Linked DNA regions of Homo sapiens: all the other regions are linked to region 1. The links are contacts of gene promoters, found by promoter capture Hi-C in blood cells and fetal thymus (Javierre and others, 2016). All regions are on one chromosome and are shown on one strand. The core of a region is centred on a gene start or on the middle of the fragment in contact, and the rest is flanking DNA. Distances in the headings are between cores, read along the strand shown.

Region 1 (3,888 bases), core at 800-3,299:
CACCACAAAATGGTCCCTCACAGCTTGGTTTTTGACACGTTGGATTGGAAGTGCTTGGAGGATATTACAGTAGAACTATCTAGGACTTAGCATGCATAATATTCCTGTTTTAAATCAGGTTCTTATTTAACAGAAACTTACATTGCACTTGCTACTTTCCAGACACTGTCCTAAAAGCTTTACAAATGCCAGTTCATTTAATCCCAATACAATACTTTGAGATACATATTATCATCTTCATTCTATCCACATTTTCAATCCTCATCATAGCTCTCATTTATGGAATGTAATGATGATGCTCTAGACTAGACGTTTTACGTAAGTTAGCTTAATTCAGTAATTCAAAACACATGCGATTATCTTCGTTTTAAAGACCAGAAAACTAAAGGTTGGTAGGTTTGTATAATTTGACTACCATTGCGTATCTTTATTTTAATACATTTTATAAATGCAAGCTTCTGCTATGATTAAAAGTGATTACCACATTTTACAGACCAGAAAGTAATAATAAGTGTTGGTGAAGATGTGAAAAAATGAGAACTCCTGTACACCATTTGTGGGAATGTAAAATGGTACAGATGCTGTGGAGAATCATATGGTGGGTGCTCAAAAAATTAAAAATAGATTTACCACATGATCCAGCAATCTCACTTCTGAGTACGTATCCAAAAGAATTGAAAACAGAGACTTTAAGAGATATTTGTACAACCATGTTTATGGCAGCATTATTCACAATAGCTAACGTGTGGCAACAATGCAAGTGTCCATGAACAGACAAATGGATAAGCAAAATGTGGTCTATACATACAATGGAATATTGTTCAGCTTTAAAAAGGAAGGAGGCTTTGATCTATACTACACAGAAAAGAACCTTGAGGACATTATGCAAAGTGAAATAAGCCAGTGACAAAAAGATACATACTGTATGATTCCACTTCTAAGAGCTGCCTAGAGTAGTCAAGATTATAGAGACAAAAGTAGTGCATAGATTCAAGGGCCTAGGGAAAGGGGAAATGGGGAGTTATTTATTAATGAATAGTGGTGATGATTGTACAAAAATATGAACATAATTAATGCCACTAAATTGTACACATACAAATGGTCAAGATAATAAATTTTATGTTATGTCATGTTATGTTATGTGATTTTACCATAATACAGAAAATGAAAAAAGAAAAGAAAGAAAGTAAAGCTTAGCGGTTTACATGACTTGACCAATGCCTCAAAGCCATGAGTCACCCAGCTGAGATCTGAACTTCAGTATATTCCATTCTGAAATCCCAGACTTTTCCCAATCTTCTTGTACTTTTCAAACTGTGTTTCAGTTGAGGTTTATTTTCAGTTTTGTATGTGAGTTTCTTCACAAGAAGGGGCGGGCCAAATTGTGTCCTGCAAAAACCTACATATCGAAGTCCTAACCCCTCTACCTCAGACTATGACTGTATATGGAGAGAGAGCCTTGAAAGAGGTATGTAAGGTAGAATGAGGTCATTATGGTGGGCCCTAATCCAACATAACTGGTGTCCTTATAAGAAGGGGAGATTAGAATTCAGACACACTTGCTGACACCTTGAGTTCAGACTGGAAGCCTCTAGAATTGTGAGAAAATGAATGTCTGTTGTTTAAGCCACCCAGTCTGTGGTATTTCCTTATGGCAGCCCCAGCAAACTAATACAAATAGTGTTTCCACAGCTGAAACAAAATTGGAAAATCACCGTCATCCTAGAGAGTTACAAGGGCTATTTTAATAGAACCTGATTGTTTTCCTAAATTCACCAAGCCCAGGCAGAGGTCAGATGACTAATTGGGATAAAAGCCAACTAGCTTCCTCTTGCTGTTTCTTTAGCCACTGGTCTGCAGGCGTTTTCTTCTTCTAACTTCCTCTCCTGTGACAAAAGAGATAACTATTAGAGAAACAAAAGTCCAGAATGCTAAGGTTGCCGCTTTCACTTCCTCTCACCCTTTAGCCCAGAACTGCTTTGAATACACCAATTGCTGTGGGGCGGCTCGAGGAAGAGAAGACACCAGTGCCTCAGAAACTGCTCGGTCAGACGGTGATAGCGAGCCACGCATTCACAGGGCCACTGCTGCTCACAGAAGCAGTGAGGATGATGCCAGGATGATGTCTGCCTCGCGCCTGGCTGGGACTCTGATCCCAGCCATGGCCTTCCTCTCCTGCGTGAGACCAGAAAGCTGGGAGCCCTGCGTGGAGGTATGTGGCTGGAGTCAGCTCCTCTGAACTTTCCCTCACTTCTGCCCAGAACTTCTCACTGTGTGCCCTGGTTTGTTTATTTTTGCAAAAAAAAAAAAGAGTTAAATTACCTTAAAGACTCAAGAAGCCACAGAGATCAAATAATTCATTGTTACAGGGCACTAGAGGCAGCCATTGGGGGTTTGTTCCATTTGGAAATTTTGAGTGCTAACAGGGGCATGAGATAACATAGATCTGCTTAAGGTCCCTGCTCTGCTACCTTGTGGCTCTGTGAAGAAATTATCAAACCTGTCTGAGACTAGTTTTCGCATCTGTAAGAGAATTATAATACCTTCTTCACTAGAGAGTAAGCAGACTGCTTCAGTGTCATTTCTTCCCACTGGTGGTCTTTACACTCAGCTTCAAGCAGTCACCCTGCTCCTTTCAATCTCAGGAAAAAGATGGCTTTTGTGTGTGTGTCTCTAGAGAAAGAACTTTCTAAGTGGGTGTCAGACTTCTGTATGCAGTAATATAGTTTAGTCCAGAGGATGAAAAAAATAAGAGAATGAAAAAGGAAAAGAGAGAGAGAGAGAAGAAAAAAGCAAGAGGGAAATATGTATAATGTCAGCTAATGCAACAGTTTCTTTCTTAGTGAAATACCAATCAGCTGGTTGGTAATCTTATTCATGATGGATCTCTTTTGTTTTTCCCCTGCGCAGACTTCACAGTTGCTTTAGAAACCCATAGTAGAGCCGAACAGCTAAGAAAATGATTTACAGTGAGGCAGGGTCAGAAACTCAAGAGAGAAAAAGCCAGCTGCAGTCCTGAAGTTGAGGATATAGGAGAAAATCAAGTAATATTTAGCAAAGACTAATTCATTATCTTGAAGCCATCCCTTCCCTCAATTCCCTGCCCATAGTCCTCCTCCTTGTCCTCTTCTCTGTATCCCTCTGCTGTTAGGTTAATGGAGATAGATTTTCTAATTAGGCTCACTGCGAGATAAAACCACAGCCAAACTTGACTTCTTTTCCCCATGTACCTTTTCCTGTCAGTCCCTGAAGCCTGTCCATCCCTGCCCATCCCCTTAGTTCCACTGTAAGGCAGGCCCTCATTTCCCCTGGCATTGACTCTTACACACTAACTGCTTTCCTGATTCCAGTCTTCTTCCTTTAATTCATTCTGCACGTTCTTGTTTGTTATGTACTTGCATTTGTTGTTATTATTTTTCCTTAGGCTTCAATCTAACAAATTACTCTCCTTAAAAACTTTTAATAACTCTCCATTGCCATTAGAACAGCTTTCTACCACAGGGCCTTTGCACTGGCTATTTCTTCTACCTAGAATGCTAGATCAGTGCTATCCATTGGCAATATTATGTGAGCCACATATGTACTTTTAAAGTTTTTAGTAGCCTCATTAAAAAAAGAAACAAGTGAATTTAATTTCGATAATAGTTTTATTTAACTTAGCGTATTTAAAATAATGTTTAAAATTTTAATATATATTTACCTATTATTGATATTTTTACATTCCTTGTTTGGTACTAAGTCTGGAATTTAGTATATGTTTTACATTTACCACACTTCTCAATTTACACTATTCACATTTCTTGTGTTTGATAACTGTGTATGGCTAGTGACTACCGTATTGGTCAGTGCAGCCCAAGTCCTTTTCATGCTTTAATCACTCCATTCAGA
Region 2 (3,888 bases), core at 739-3,238, 900 kb after region 1:
TACATGGCTCCTATAGTTAACAATACTATGGCTGGGTGCAGTGGCTCACGCCTGTAATCCCAGCACTTTGGGAGGCCAAGATGGGCAGATCACAAGGTCAAGAGATCGAGAGCATCCTGACCAACCCCATCTGTACTAAAAATACAAAAATTAGCTGGGCATGGTGGTGCGTGTCTGTGGTCCCAGCTACTTGGGGACTGAGGCAGGAGAATCGCTTGAACCCGGGAAGCGGAGGTTGCAGTGAGCTGAGATCATACCACTGCACTCCAGCCTGGCGACAGAGTGAGACTACGTCTCAAAAAACAAAACAAAGCAAAACAAAACAATACTATACATGGAAAATGTTTGAGTGAGTAGATCTCAAGTTAAGCGTTTTTACTACACACTCAAAAAAAGGGAGTGGAAAGAAACTTTTGGGGGTGGTGTGTATGTTTATTACCTTGATTGTGGGGATGGTTTCATGTGTGTATATATATGTTCAAGCACGTCAAATTGTAGATATCAAACATGTGCAGTATTTTATGTATCAATTGCCCCTCAATAAAGCTATTAAAAACAGAAATAAAAGATGTTTCTAAGAGTATTAGAAAAAATGAAAATTACTGATAATTTGTTTTAATTTAATTTAAATGTTAAACCCCTCCAAAGTATAATGTATTATAAGACTACACTGTAGTCTACTATATAAATATAATTCTGTTATATTATATGTAAGAGCAAAAGGAAAGAATCCAAAATGTTTATGACTGTCTCTGCATATTTTTTCTGTATCTTTCCAGTGTCTTAAAAGCAATTAGTACTTATTAGTTGTATGATGAACAAAAAATACAGATTATCTTAAACTATTTCTGTTCCTCTTTTTAAATTAATATACAATATTTAGACATAAATATATGGAGTACATGTGATATTTTGCTACATACATAGAATGTATAATGATCAAGTCAGAGCATTTAGGATATCCATCACCTCCAACATTTATCATTTCCATGTGCTGGAAACATTTCAAATTCTCTCTTCTAGCTATTTTGAAATATTAGCTCAGGGATGTCTCCTTTAGAGCTAAACTATAATGGAGTAAGGTAGGAAGCCTGTTGGTAGTAGCTTTCCCATCTCTCCAGTCTTGCTTCCCACTGAATTATAAATTCTTCAAATGCAGGAAGAAAAAATCCTCACATTTTCTCTGTACAACAATGGCCCGTTATTATAGTTGGTTTATAATAGGTTCTTAATAAATATTTTGCATTAATTAATGCATAGTGATCCTGAGAATATACTGATGAGTCATCAATTTTTGATAAGAAAATAGTAGTTACTTGATAGTTAAAACAAAAGAAAATAAAACCGGAAAATATTTCATGTCTACTTCATTATTTAAAATTTTAATCAAAAGCTTAATTCATTTTTTAAACATATTTGTTTGCCCTATTTTATGATACAAAAATTGTTGTAATAAATGCAAAAAAAGTATAACCAGTTACCTAACATTTCTCTATCCAATTCTTCCTTACTAAAGTAACCAAAGATAACCATGTACTATATATCTTTCCTCATATTTCTCTTTGATTATACTGACCTATGCAAGCATTTGCAAATATTTAAGAGTTTTGTTTGTTCATTTAAAAAACTTTTATTTTGAAATAATTATAGATTCACAGAAGTTTATTCATAAGAATAGTACAGAGGGGCTCAGTGTACCCTTCACCTGGTTTCTGTCAATAACATCTTACATAATTATAGTATAATATCAAACAGTCATGCAGTCCAGAAAACTTATTCAGTTTTCACCAGCTTTACAGGCACTCATGTGTGTGAGTGTGTAAATTTGGGTAGCTCTATGTAATTTTATAGCATGCATATTCATGTAATTACAACAATAATTGAAATATAGATCTGTCTCATTACCACAACATTCCCTCATGCTACCATTTTATAGTTACATCCATCCCCTCCTCCTTTCCTTCTCCCCTTCTTTAATTTCTGCCAACCATAAATCTGTTACACATCTCTAAAATCTTGTCATTTGTCCGGGTGTGGTGGCTCATGCCTGTAATCCCAGCAATTTGGGAGGTCGAGGTGGATGGATCACTTGAGGTTAAGAGCTCAAGACCAGACTGGTCAACATGGTGAAACCCTGTCTCTACTAAAAATACAAAAATTAGCTGGACATGGTGGGGCATGCTTGTAATCCCAGCTACTAGGGAGGCTGAGGCAGGAGACTCACTTGAACCCAGGAGGCACAGGCTGCAGTGAGTCAAGATCATGCCACCACACTCCAGCCTGGGAGACAATGTGAGACTCTGTCTCAAAAATAAATAAATACATAAAATCTTGTCATTTTAAGAATATTATATAAATTGAATCATACAATACATATGTTTGTTAATTTTTTACCATATATAATTACATTATTTACATTATACTACATCTCTGCATTTTTTTTCTCCACTTAAAAATAAGCTATATGCAACCCCACAGGGAAATGCACATGGTTATAATATGTAACCCACTAATTTTTAATACACATGTAATTACATATATATAATTTATATTATCAGAATTATATTTTACAGCCTTTCTTTTTAAGCTTGGCTTTCTATGTGCTCCTCCTCTCTTATTTTCCCTCCAACCAATTTGATACCAGGCTTTCCCCCCACCCCACTCACAACTAAGTAATCATGACAACACCTTGATATAATTTTATGCATTTTTGCCATATTCAACATATATATGTACATACATATATGTTAGAATAGGTATGATTTATATATAGTATGTGTATATAAAGAAAGAATGCAAAGATGAGCAGTAATGTAAATACTATGTTTCTGTTTGTTAAAAATGAATACTACCATCTTGGTTCATTAAAAAAATAGGGTTGTATTACATACACTTTTAACATCTTGAGTTTTTCAATAATACATTTGGGATATTCTCCAAGTAAATTGTTGTAGCTATAACTGATATTTTACTTGCTTGAAAGAATTCTGCAGTTTGGACATATTCTGTAGTGTAGTGCAATGTTCATCCCCTCTAATACTGAATGGAATTTGCCTTTTTTCCAGTTTTTGACACTTGCAACAATGTTAAAATAAGCGTCCTTATATGAGTGGGTGTGTCTGTGAGTGTGTGTATGTAATTACATATACTTCCTGTGTATATAACATACACACACATATATATCTATATATTTAGAGAGAGAGAGATAATTAGTTTTCTATTGTCACTGTAACAATTTAGCACAAATTTAGTGGCTTAAAAACTTATTCTCTTATAATTCTGGAGATCAGAAGTCCTAAAATGGGTTGGCAGTTCCTTCTGGAAGCTGTAGAAGAGAAATTATTCCCTTGTCTTTTTCATCTTCTAGAAATTGCCTCATTCCTTAGCTGGTAGTCCCTTCCTTACATCACTGCAAACTCTTGCTTTCATAATCACATATCCTATTTTTTAACTCTGGTCCTCTTTGCTCTCTTCTAAAGACCCTTGTGATTCCATTGTGTGCACACAGATAAATTAGGATAACCTCCCCATCTCAAGATCCTTAATTTAATCACGTATACAGGGCCCTTTTTATTATGTAAGGTAACCTATTCACAGGTCTGGACATCAAGTCATGAATATGCTTGGGGGTCAGCTTTTCACACAAATAGATGTTTATGTTTCACTTCCAAAAGATAGATTAACTGGACTGGAAATTCTGAGTTGAATATTATGTTTCACTTCCAAAAGATAGATTAACTGGACTGGAAATTCTGAGTTGAATATTATGGTGGATTCCTTTATTACTCAGCAAATATTAACTCTGTTCCTCCCCATACCTAAGGTTTGAGTGCATTTTCCCATCTCAGTGAATTTGGACTTGTTATAATCAAAGGAATTTGACTTTAA
Region 3 (3,888 bases), core at 868-3,367, 830 kb after region 1:
TCTGGAGAAGAATCTGTTTCCTTGCCTTTTGTTTGTGGAGCTGCATTGTTCTCAGTCCAGCCTCTATTTCTGTTGTCACATTTCCTTCTCCTGCCCTGACCATCTTCCCTTCCTCCTTTAAGGATCTTTGTGATTATATTGACTCACTCAGATAATCCAGGACCATCTCCCTATCTCAATATTTGTATTTGGTCACATCTGCAAAATCCCGTTGCCATGGAGGGTTGTGTACTCATAGGTCCAGGGATTAGTTCACGGACACCTTTAGTGAGTAAGTGCCATTATTCTGCCTACCACAAGAACCACAGATAAGAAGGATTTTCCAACTTCCATAGAAGGTTTCTAAGGTAGCCCTGAGTATCAACATTCACCTGGGGAATGGAGAAAGAGAGAAATATTTGCCCCTGGGAGGATTTTATGACTGCGGACTGACAAAAACATATAATATGTACATGAACTCTTGTTTTGTTCTCTTCTTTCAGGGTATGTAGAAAACTCCAAGTTGCATGTTTTGCCCACAGACTTAGGAGAAAGAAAAATGATAGCGTTGCCTACAGAAGGAGCACAGAGAAGGGAGGGTGAGATCAGTAATGGAGGAAAAGAAATATAAGAAATATGTATCATAACAAGGGGGAAATGTGCTTGGACTGAAGGTTTTTATTTCCCCACATTTTCAAGGGTGGCTGAGGTTTTCTTACAGTGGAACCAGCAGGCTTCTACTGCTTGCAGCCTCCTCAAAATAGATCCCAAGTACCCTGGAGTCCATCTGCAGTGAGAATCAGTTAGAGACACATGACAGCCGTTCCTTGAAATGTGCTCAGTGATTCACACAGCTCACAGTGGCTGTGCAGTAGGGATTATTGACCTGAAAATGACTTTCTCTCCTCCCTTCAATCCCCATTGTCGGCTTGGAAAATTATCTCGGGGCGCATTTTTTTACATTCTCTTCTCTGAAAGCATTATTTCAGTTGTACCCTTTATGCCTAAGGCCTCGTCCTTCCCTAGAGAGGAATTGTGACTCTTGGAAATGGCTGATCATATCACAGAAACTGGGGTATCCTGTAATCTCTGCTGGGCATTTAGCCTTCCAAGATTGTCTGGTATATGTGAGCTCCATCAGTTCTATTTGACTTATTTTTTTGTTTTTCCCTCCCCGGAATGGTTTACTATATTTTCTAACATTATTTAAACATATTTGTTTTCTAAAATTTGCTTAATTGGAAATGGATGCAGATCCATCAAACATGTCCACCTCTCTTTCTATGCATAGATGTTTTTCATGCTTTCCTTTTCCATCCCTACAACCAGTGTCTTTAAACTTCTTTAACAGTTTAACAATCATCTGAAAGCACTTGTTCACTGAAGAGATTACCAGGTCTCTCCTGGTAATTACTAGGTAATTACTAGGTCCCAATCAAGAATTTATACTTCCTACTGATGATGTTAGATTTATTATAATATGAAGCAACTTTAAAAAACACTACTAACACACTCTATAAAGCAGATGGGTTTTTGTGTAATGCATCTGGATCTAAATTAAAGCTCTAGAGTTTGCTAGTTACACAGAATTAGCCAATTCATTAAGATTTCTGTATATTAGTTGATAAATATATAACTACCTAAATCCAGTTCTTAGGTTATATCTTTACTTTTCTTTACTTCACTTATACAAGGAAGACAATGATAATACATGATATTATGTGCTGAATTTTAGTCTACCGGATGTGCTTTGAAATTAAAGCAGGCTGGGTGCAGTGGCTCACGCCTGTAATCCCAGCACTTTGGGAGGCCGAGGCGGGTAGATCACCTGAGGTCAGGAGTTTGAGACGAGCCTGACCAACATGGTGAAACCTCATCTCTACTAAAAAATACAAAAATTAGCTGAGTGTGGTGGCAGGTGCCTGTAAACCTAGCTACTAGGGAGGCTGAGGCAGGAGAATTGCTTGAACCCAGGAGGGTGGGGATCGCAGTGAGCTGAGATCATGCCCACTGAAATCTAGCCTGGGAGACAAAGTGAGACTTTGTCTCAAAAAAAAAAAAAAGAAAGAAAATAAAGCAAAAACAGATTTGTTCTGGCAGAAGTAATCAGAACTTTGCATAACAGAGGAGAATAACATAAAATTACCTGTGAAGAAATATAGACTCTGAGTAGGAAAGTGAGAAAGTGTTAGAGAAGTTTGAGAAGTTAGAGAAGAAAGACATTCTTCAATCTAAACTTTGGAGAACCCTTAGGTTATCCACCCATTGTTGATCTTCAGGTTTAGGCCATGTTCTACTGTTAACTGCTGCGTGGAGTGATGAAATACTTTGGAAGACAGGGTGTGGCCAATGTTCTTCTGAACTTGAAACTAAGATTTTATTTAATTCTATTATATTCCTCATTGTATTAGAGTTCTCTAAAGGGACAGAACTAATAGGTTAGATGCATATATAACGGGGAGTTTATGAAGGAGTATTGACTCATACTATCACAAGGTGAGGTCCCACAATAGGCCGTCTGCAAGCTGAGGAGACAGGAAGCCAGTCCGAGTCTCAATAAAAGTAGGGAAGCCAATAGTGCAGCCTTTAGTCTGTGGTCGAAGGTCCAAGAGTCTCAAAGCTGAAGAACTAGGAGTACAATGTTTGAGGGCAGAAAGCATCCAGCACAGGAGAAAGATGTAGGCCAGGAGACTAAGCCAGTCTAGTCTTTTCACATTCTTCTGCCTCATTTTTATTCTGGACACTCTGGCAGCTCAGCTGATTAGATTGTGCCCACCCAGATTGAGGGTGGGTCTGCCTTTCCCAGTCCACTGACTCAAATGTTAATCTCCTTTGACAGCATCCTCACAGACACATCCAGGAACAATATTTTGCATCCTTCAATTTAATCAAGTTCACACTCAATATTAACCATCACACTTATCTTTTAAGATTCTTTTATTAATTTTATCAAATTTCCATCACCTGCAAGAATTGCCCTTTAAGCCCTTAGTTTTACTACCAACAATATTATCTCCCAGTATTCATGCACATCACTGACCATCACCCTCCACCTGCACGTCATACATGGTTATGTGGCACTGGGACACTTTAAATCACTTATTCTGTTGGAATTTTATGCTTTCAGATGATAGCTATTAAAGCAAATAATTATGTAGTGCCAGTTATGTGACAGGCACTGCTTTGGACATTTTTAAGTAAATTAACCCATTCAATCTTCACATCAACTATTATAATTAACTCTATTTTATAAATGAGGAAACTGAGGCAAAAGCTATGGAGCCAGGAATCCTTGCACTTTACAGCATTGATCATAAGAAAACATAATTAAAGTGAGACTATACACACACACACACACACACACACATATATATATATGAACAAGAATTTATTAATCTAAAGTGCAGATAAGAATAATTTCAACCTAAGTGACTGGGCAATAATTTCTAGACAGTGTATTTGGACAGGAAAATCTCCCTGTTTAAACAATGCCTTGAAAGTTCTCATTCCTGTTTGGCAAAGGGCCTCACCACATGCCATATAATGCTCAAATTATTCAAATATTCAATTATTCTTATATATGACCTCAGAGCTGCCTTACAATTACTCAGCTTTCTTCTTCAGCTTACAGATGAGAAAACTGCCACCTACAGAGGGAAGTCGCTTACTGGTATCGTAGAGCTAAAAGTATACAGGCTTCTAACACCCCTTGTACTCCATACCAGATGATAAGTTACTATCATTTTAGTCATTTTCCATCCACAGAGGTCTAGGCAAGAAGGGATTGGAATTTGCTGGAAAAAACAATAGTGTTCAAATCACAAACCCTGTTCTCATTTCCCTGGAGCATTTCTTTCAAAAACAAAGAAGTAGCAAAGAAAATACTGCAAAGTTAGGAATCTGAGCAAT

The links. The method cuts DNA at HindIII sites, captures the fragments that hold promoters and counts their contacts. A CHiCAGO score of 5 or more calls a contact.
Region 2: a fragment that was not itself captured here is called in contact with the fragment with the promoter of TLR4 in region 1 in 1 of 17 cell types (endothelial precursors); the score reaches 5.7 in endothelial precursors.
Region 3: a fragment that was not itself captured here is called in contact with the fragment with the promoter of TLR4 in region 1 in 1 of 17 cell types (endothelial precursors); the score reaches 5.3 in endothelial precursors.

The regions. Positions count from the first base shown.
Region 1 is chr9:117,702,354-117,706,241 of GRCh38, forward strand. It overlaps TLR4 (toll like receptor 4), which reads left to right and starts at 2,050. Exons shown (of 3, transcript NM_138554.5): 1 at 2,050-2,212. The coding sequence starts at 2,120. RefSeq lists enhancers at 1,472-2,671, 1,619-2,119, 2,020-2,069, 2,080-2,149, 2,120-2,620 and 1 more. The HindIII fragment of the contact is 5,259 bases long and covers 1,191-3,888 here.
Region 2 is chr9:118,605,583-118,609,470 of GRCh38, forward strand. No RefSeq gene overlaps it. Among named protein-coding and RNA genes, the nearest start is that of LINC02578, 72 kb to the right of the region's middle. The HindIII fragment of the contact is 1,194 bases long and covers 1,392-2,585 here.
Region 3 is chr9:118,535,568-118,539,455 of GRCh38, forward strand. No RefSeq gene overlaps it. Among named protein-coding and RNA genes, the nearest start is that of LINC02578, 140 kb to the right of the region's middle. The HindIII fragment of the contact is 4,666 bases long and covers 1-3,888 here.